Regions from separate parts of the Homo sapiens genome. Here region 1 is linked to region 2. The links are contacts of gene promoters, found by promoter capture Hi-C in blood cells and fetal thymus (Javierre and others, 2016). All regions are on one chromosome and are shown on one strand. Each heading gives the region's core, a stretch centred on a gene start or on the middle of the fragment in contact. The rest is flanking DNA. Distances are from core to core; before and after follow the strand shown.

Region 1 (2,868 bases), core at 369-2,868, 260 kb after region 2:
AGATTGAGACCATCCTGGCTAACAAGGTGAAACCCCGTCTCTACTAAAAATACAAAAAAATTAGCCAGGCATGGTGGCAGGTGCCTGTAGTCCCAGCTACTCAGGAGGCTGAGGCAGGAGAATGGTGTGAACCCGGGAGGCAGAGCTTGCAGTGAGAGCAAGATTTCATCTCAAAAAAAAAAAAAAAGAAGAAGAAAATACAACTGAACTGTACTTTAAACAGTAAGGGACTTTGCATTCACAGGCAGTTTCCAAGAAGCAGAAAATACTACACATTTATCTGTTTGCCTGGGTTTTATCATGTGGTAAATGCAAGATAAATAACAGCTGTCACAGATGAGCAGGACTAATGCTAAAAAACTAGTGCCATGTATGATAGTGCGTGTGTGCATGCTCACTACTAGACAAGTTGGTAAAATTGCAAGTTAACATATTAGGTTGAAGCACATGTTATTACCAATATTACTGGTCAAAAGAAGTAGAGTGTTTGGCTGTTTCATTTGGTTGAAGCTTAGGTCTTTCAGAACCAAAAAGGGTCTCATAAATAATTCAATCCATGGGTTTTTTAACTGGGTCGAGTATGGGTCCACTTCAAGGAGATGAGGAGCCCTCATCTATGTATTCATTCAGTTGATAGTTTTCCAGAGCTTATGATGTTCCAAGTAATGCTCTAGTAGCTGGGGATATAGACAGGAAAACACAGAGTCCTTTGCCCTCATTCATATTTCATTTCAGTGGGAAGGCCTGACAATAAATATATACTAGGAAGTCATTACTGAATTGAATGCAGTTTTACGTCTTGTGTTCATTTATACATTTTTCTGGAGGGAGAGTTCATTGAATTCATGGAAATGGTTTATGATCACCAAAAATTAGAACCACTAACCTATCACACTCTGCCAATTTTGACGGGAAACCAAAGTACAAACACTGAGTGATTTGCCCATCACCGTGTAGTTCATTCATGGCTAACTTAAGATTGAAACGCAGGTGTCCTGGTGTTCAGTCATTATTGCACATTGTAGGGGAAATAATCTGTGACTTTTCCTTTCCTTTCTATATTTATTTTCTTTTTAACAATACCTGCATACTTTTGACGCTCAACAAATTCATGTCGAGAGCTGGGAATCTGGTCAGACAGATTGTAGTCCTAACTTCGTTATTACAGAGTATAAGCTTTGTGATTCTAGAAAATTGTTTAAAACTCTGAGCTGCAGCTTCCACATCTAGATTGATGCGAGTAAATTGTAACTGACAGATTATTGTGAGGATTAAATGAGATTTCTTATACACACACTGTGTATGTGCACATACACAGTGTATGCACATACACATACATATTATTTGGCTAACAGCCTTTCGCCTGATAAGCATGTGAGTCATTACTATTATAACCCTTTTTATAAGTCTGTTCTTTGGTGCCGGGTCTCCAGCTTCTAAAAAATTCACTCCCTTTCACCAAACTGTGATTCAAATAGCAGCTTGGAGCTCTTGTTTAATTCTGGGAAGACCCAAGGGGCAGTAGTAACTAACTACTACAAAGTACAGACCTTAAACTCTGGAGCTTGGCTGCCTGGGTTCAAATTTTGGCTCTACTCTTTGTCTTTTTATGTGTTGTCTGAATTTTTCATAATAAGCATGTGGTAGTTTTTCTACTAAAAAAAAAAACAAGCTATTTTCACTTTAAAAAACAACAACAACAACATATGGATCTATTTTTTGGTGACTTGCCATTTCTGTTCCTTTGAAATTCATCCTGTGTCTTTGGAAGACTAGGATATGTGGCTCTCCCTGCCTTAAAGGGATCCTGATTGATCTTCTCTGGTGGCAAGAAAGCTCAGCCTCCTCCTTCCTGCAGGATAAAGGAGTGGCTTGGAAAAGTGGTCAGATCGGAAGGCCCTCGAGACCAGCTCCCTTTCCCACAGCCCTTCAGTGTCTGACTCAGAGGGAAACTGGCGCTGTTCTCTGGTATCCTCTCTCCTTTCGTCTCCACACCTAGTGTGCCAGCGTTGTTCTCCAAACAAAGAACAGACCATGTAAATTCTGTGACCGAAGCTTCATTGATATGAAGGAGAAACAATTGCCAGACCTATTCTGGCCTTCTGTAAACAAAACTTTTTTTTAGAGAAAGCTTGCATGCCATTTTTAGAGAAAGTTATTGTATGCCAGAAATTAGACAGTGAGGGAAAGGCCAAATTCCTGGTGATATTTATCTTGCTATTCTGTTCCCTTCAGGAACTATCTCTCTATCTCAGGATAATTTTTTTGTTTGTTCTAAGAATTATATTGTGTATGAAACTCTGTGCATGCACAAAGATAAATAATTTTCTTTTTTATTATTACAGATAGAGAAAAATTTGAAATCCTTGACAGTTTCATTTTCACAAAATTAAACTGAAGTAAATCATACATTATATAAATAATGTTAATTGATCTTGCTGATAGCATATGGAAAAACTTGGTTTGCACTTTTCCTAAACTAAAGATAATTGCTTTGACAAAGATGAAAAATATTGCATAAGAAACATTTAATCTCTTGTCAGGATCTGGGTAGCCTTATAAGGCTCTGAGATGGTGTGCTGGGGAAGATATCAAAGAGATGAACAGCACAAGTGAGCAGGCAGTAAAAAGCTCAATGGCAGAGAGAACTCCAAGGACTTAAAAATATGTACTCAGACATAAGCTTATAATGCAAGTTATCTATATTGTTGAGCAAAATGGATATGTATATTTTGTATTATGTAAGTCCTTTTGTTTTTCAAAGAAGAGACACTCTCAGATTTCCTTAGATCTATTCCCCTCAAACTTTCCCACTGAAGTATTCCTAAATGGGAGAGGAGTAACAATGGATACTTTTCAACGTGTCAA
Region 2 (2,700 bases), core at 120-2,619:
CTCTTATCTCTGACCTGGAGAAAATGCCACCAGGTTGACGTGGACTAGGATTCATTCCTCCACAATAAAGAATAGCAAGTGGCTGAATGTCAGTCTCAAAGGAGGACAGCTTAGGAAATATTTATCTTCTTTGTAAAAAAAAAAAAAAAAAACCACACACACACTTTAAAATCAGAGACAACTTTTTTGTTTTGTTTTGATCGCTGTTCAAACTACATTATACAAACGTGTCTCCTTCTCCCTCCAAATAAACTAAAATTCTTAAATTTGACCACACTCTAGCTCTGCCTAATGGTCAGGGAAAAAGTACTCAGGCGATGGTCCCACAAAAGCTCTCCACCCCAGCCTTATTTCCTCCTCTTAGTGTAAAAGAACTCAGGAGGTGGGCGGGCCCCACTGCCACAGCACTACAGTTAGAGCGGCTGCTCCGGCTTATTCTCTCATTGCGGCATCTAGGATCCAGAAGTGAAAAGAACTTTTCCTAGCCTAAGTTTACATTCGTCGAATAGACAATGTTACAACAATAAGAGGAAGGCAGAAGGGAAGGAAGAATTCCCCTCTGCCAAGTATTTAAGTGGCGCTTGGTTTATTCCAAGTCCCCCCGGGAAGAAACACAGCGCTTCGTCCTCAAGTAAGAAATAGAGGCATTATTCACATCCTTGGGTTGAAAAATAAGCATTTTGGGGCTCGCAGGCTTCTGCAAAGCCAGCAAGCACCGCGCTGGGGAGCTGCAGGCCGCCATCAGCAATGGATTCCGGATTTCCCTGGTCTCTGGCAGGCGCGGCACCTGTCTGAGCCAGGGGAAGTTGGGCTGCAGGACTCGCGGTCTCCAGGACACCCGCGGATCCCCACACTGTCCATGCTTGAGTGCGTGCGTGTCTGTCTGTGTGTGTGTGTGTGTGTGTGCGTGTGTGTACCTAAAACAAAGCACTCACTGAGATGACTTTGGAGGGTGCTTAACAGACAGGGCGAGACGCGCCTAATGGGGACGCAAGGCCTGGGATAGCAGGAAGGGAACGAAGAAGTATCTCTTTCCAAGCAGGTCCTGGTGGCTGGGAGCCCGAGTCCACGTGGAATCCGAGGGAACACACGGAGCTCGCTCCCTAGTTCCGCCCAATCCCTCCAGCGAGCCCCAGGAAGCCGCGCGGGTCCCTCCTGCAGCCGATGCAGAGCGAAATCCCCGCTTACCTTGACTGAGCGCTAACACCAGCAGCAGCGGCAGCGGCGCGGCCCCTGTCCGTTCTGGCCCCATCCTGGGTCTGACCGGGGGACCGTAGTTGCGCTGGGTTTGCAGAGGTTTGCAGAGGATACCCTTGGCCGAGGGATACGAGAACCTGCACACTCTAGAAGCTGTCCAGAGGGCTTCTCTCCCCCGCCCGGTGAGAGCAGGGAAAAGTTTCTGGGCAGCTCCTGCAGCGCCGAGGGCCCGCCCCAGCCCGCCCCTCCTGATTCCGCAAACACCGGATCTGCTCCGGCCGCGCCCCGCCCCACCCCGGCCCTGCGGCCCCGCGGGCTGCACCTCGGCTCGTCCACACGCGGGGCACCGCACCTTGGCTCCCGTACAGCGGCCCAGCCCCGGCAGCCTGGAGGCGGTGGGGATGGGGATGGCGCCCTGGCAGGCTTTCCTGCCCTGGACGGGACGGGTGGGCATATCCGACGGGCGAGCGCCCGCCCTGGCACCACTCCGCCCCCGCAGCCTGTCGCCAGCACGCAGGAGATGCCCCAGTCCCCGGGAGAACGTGGCCCCTCCGCAGCCCTTGGCAGCGCCCGGCTCCTGGCAGCGGGTGCCGAGGGCACTAGCCCTAAACCACAGTGCCTAGGGGCTGCGCGGTGCGTCCCTTTCTCTGTTTTTCCTAAGTGGGTGGAGAAAGGGACAAAAATAAGCGCAGAATGACCAGGTTAGAAACTAACTCATCAGGAAAGAAGATCTGCTCACAAGTTATGATTATCCAAGGTGATATTTAAGCAATACCTGCTGCAAGAGCTGTGTGTGTGTGTGTGTGTGTGACAGAGAGACAGAGAGAGAGAAATCATCATTACTTCCTCTCCTCCGAGATAATTAAGAGCTGATTTAATGACTGAGTTTAGGAGATTAACTTCAAGGCCAGAGAAAAGGCTGAGAGCCCATACATGCACTTGTGACTCTCCCTGTCTACATTACACCATGACATAGACTGTGACCATTTTCTTCCATTATTTCAGTCTCACATCTGGAAAGAGAACATTCTATATCCGAGATTTTTAGTTAAAAACCTAAGAAATAGGATATTAATTTTTCTTGTCTGAATCTTATGTTTTATCCAAAAGTTTGGCCACAAATTTCCAGCACATTGCTGAAACCAGAATTCTTCCAGTGACTACTTTTGTGAAGGAACGAACTGTTTTCATAAATCAAGCTTAAGGAGTTATGAGTCTAATAATCATCATTATTGTCATCATTCCAGATCTTCATGGAATGCTACTATGAGCTGAATGGGATGCCTGAGATACTGCCTCTAGGAAGCAAAGTGGCTCAAGGTGGGAAGGACTTAATAATTCATAAAAATCAAGCTCTTCTCTTTACTATAGATAGGGCTGATGTGTCACATTGTTAAAGTATTAAATTGGTATGCATCAGATGTTGCTGCTGATGGCTTATGACTAATACCCTTTGAACCCAAATTATATAGTCCCAGGCTCTTTCCTGTTTTCTTATCAGTC

The links. Contacts are between HindIII fragments. The CHiCAGO score rates a contact against its expected background, and 5 or more counts as called.
Region 1: a fragment that was not itself captured here is called in contact with the fragment with the promoter of ITGA2 in region 2 in 1 of 17 cell types (endothelial precursors); the score reaches 5.1 in endothelial precursors.

Annotation. Positions count from the first base shown.
Region 1 is chr5:52,726,920-52,729,787 of GRCh38, reverse strand. All of the region lies in intron 2 of PELO-AS1 (PELO antisense RNA 1), which reads left to right. Among named protein-coding and RNA genes, the nearest start is that of ITGA1, 60 kb to the left of the region's middle. The HindIII fragment of the contact is 879 bases long and covers 1,179-2,057 here.
Region 2 is chr5:52,988,021-52,990,720 of GRCh38, reverse strand. It overlaps ITGA2 (integrin subunit alpha 2), which reads right to left and starts at 1,369. Exons shown (of 30, transcript NM_002203.4): 1 at 1,189-1,369. The coding sequence starts at 1,252. It overlaps ITGA2-AS1 (ITGA2 antisense RNA 1), which reads left to right and starts at 435. Exons shown (of 4, transcript NR_186583.1): 1 at 435-631; 2 at 2,445-2,517. RefSeq lists a silencer at 1,416-1,565 and an enhancer at 2,030-2,700. The HindIII fragment of the contact is 2,612 bases long and covers 1-2,398 here.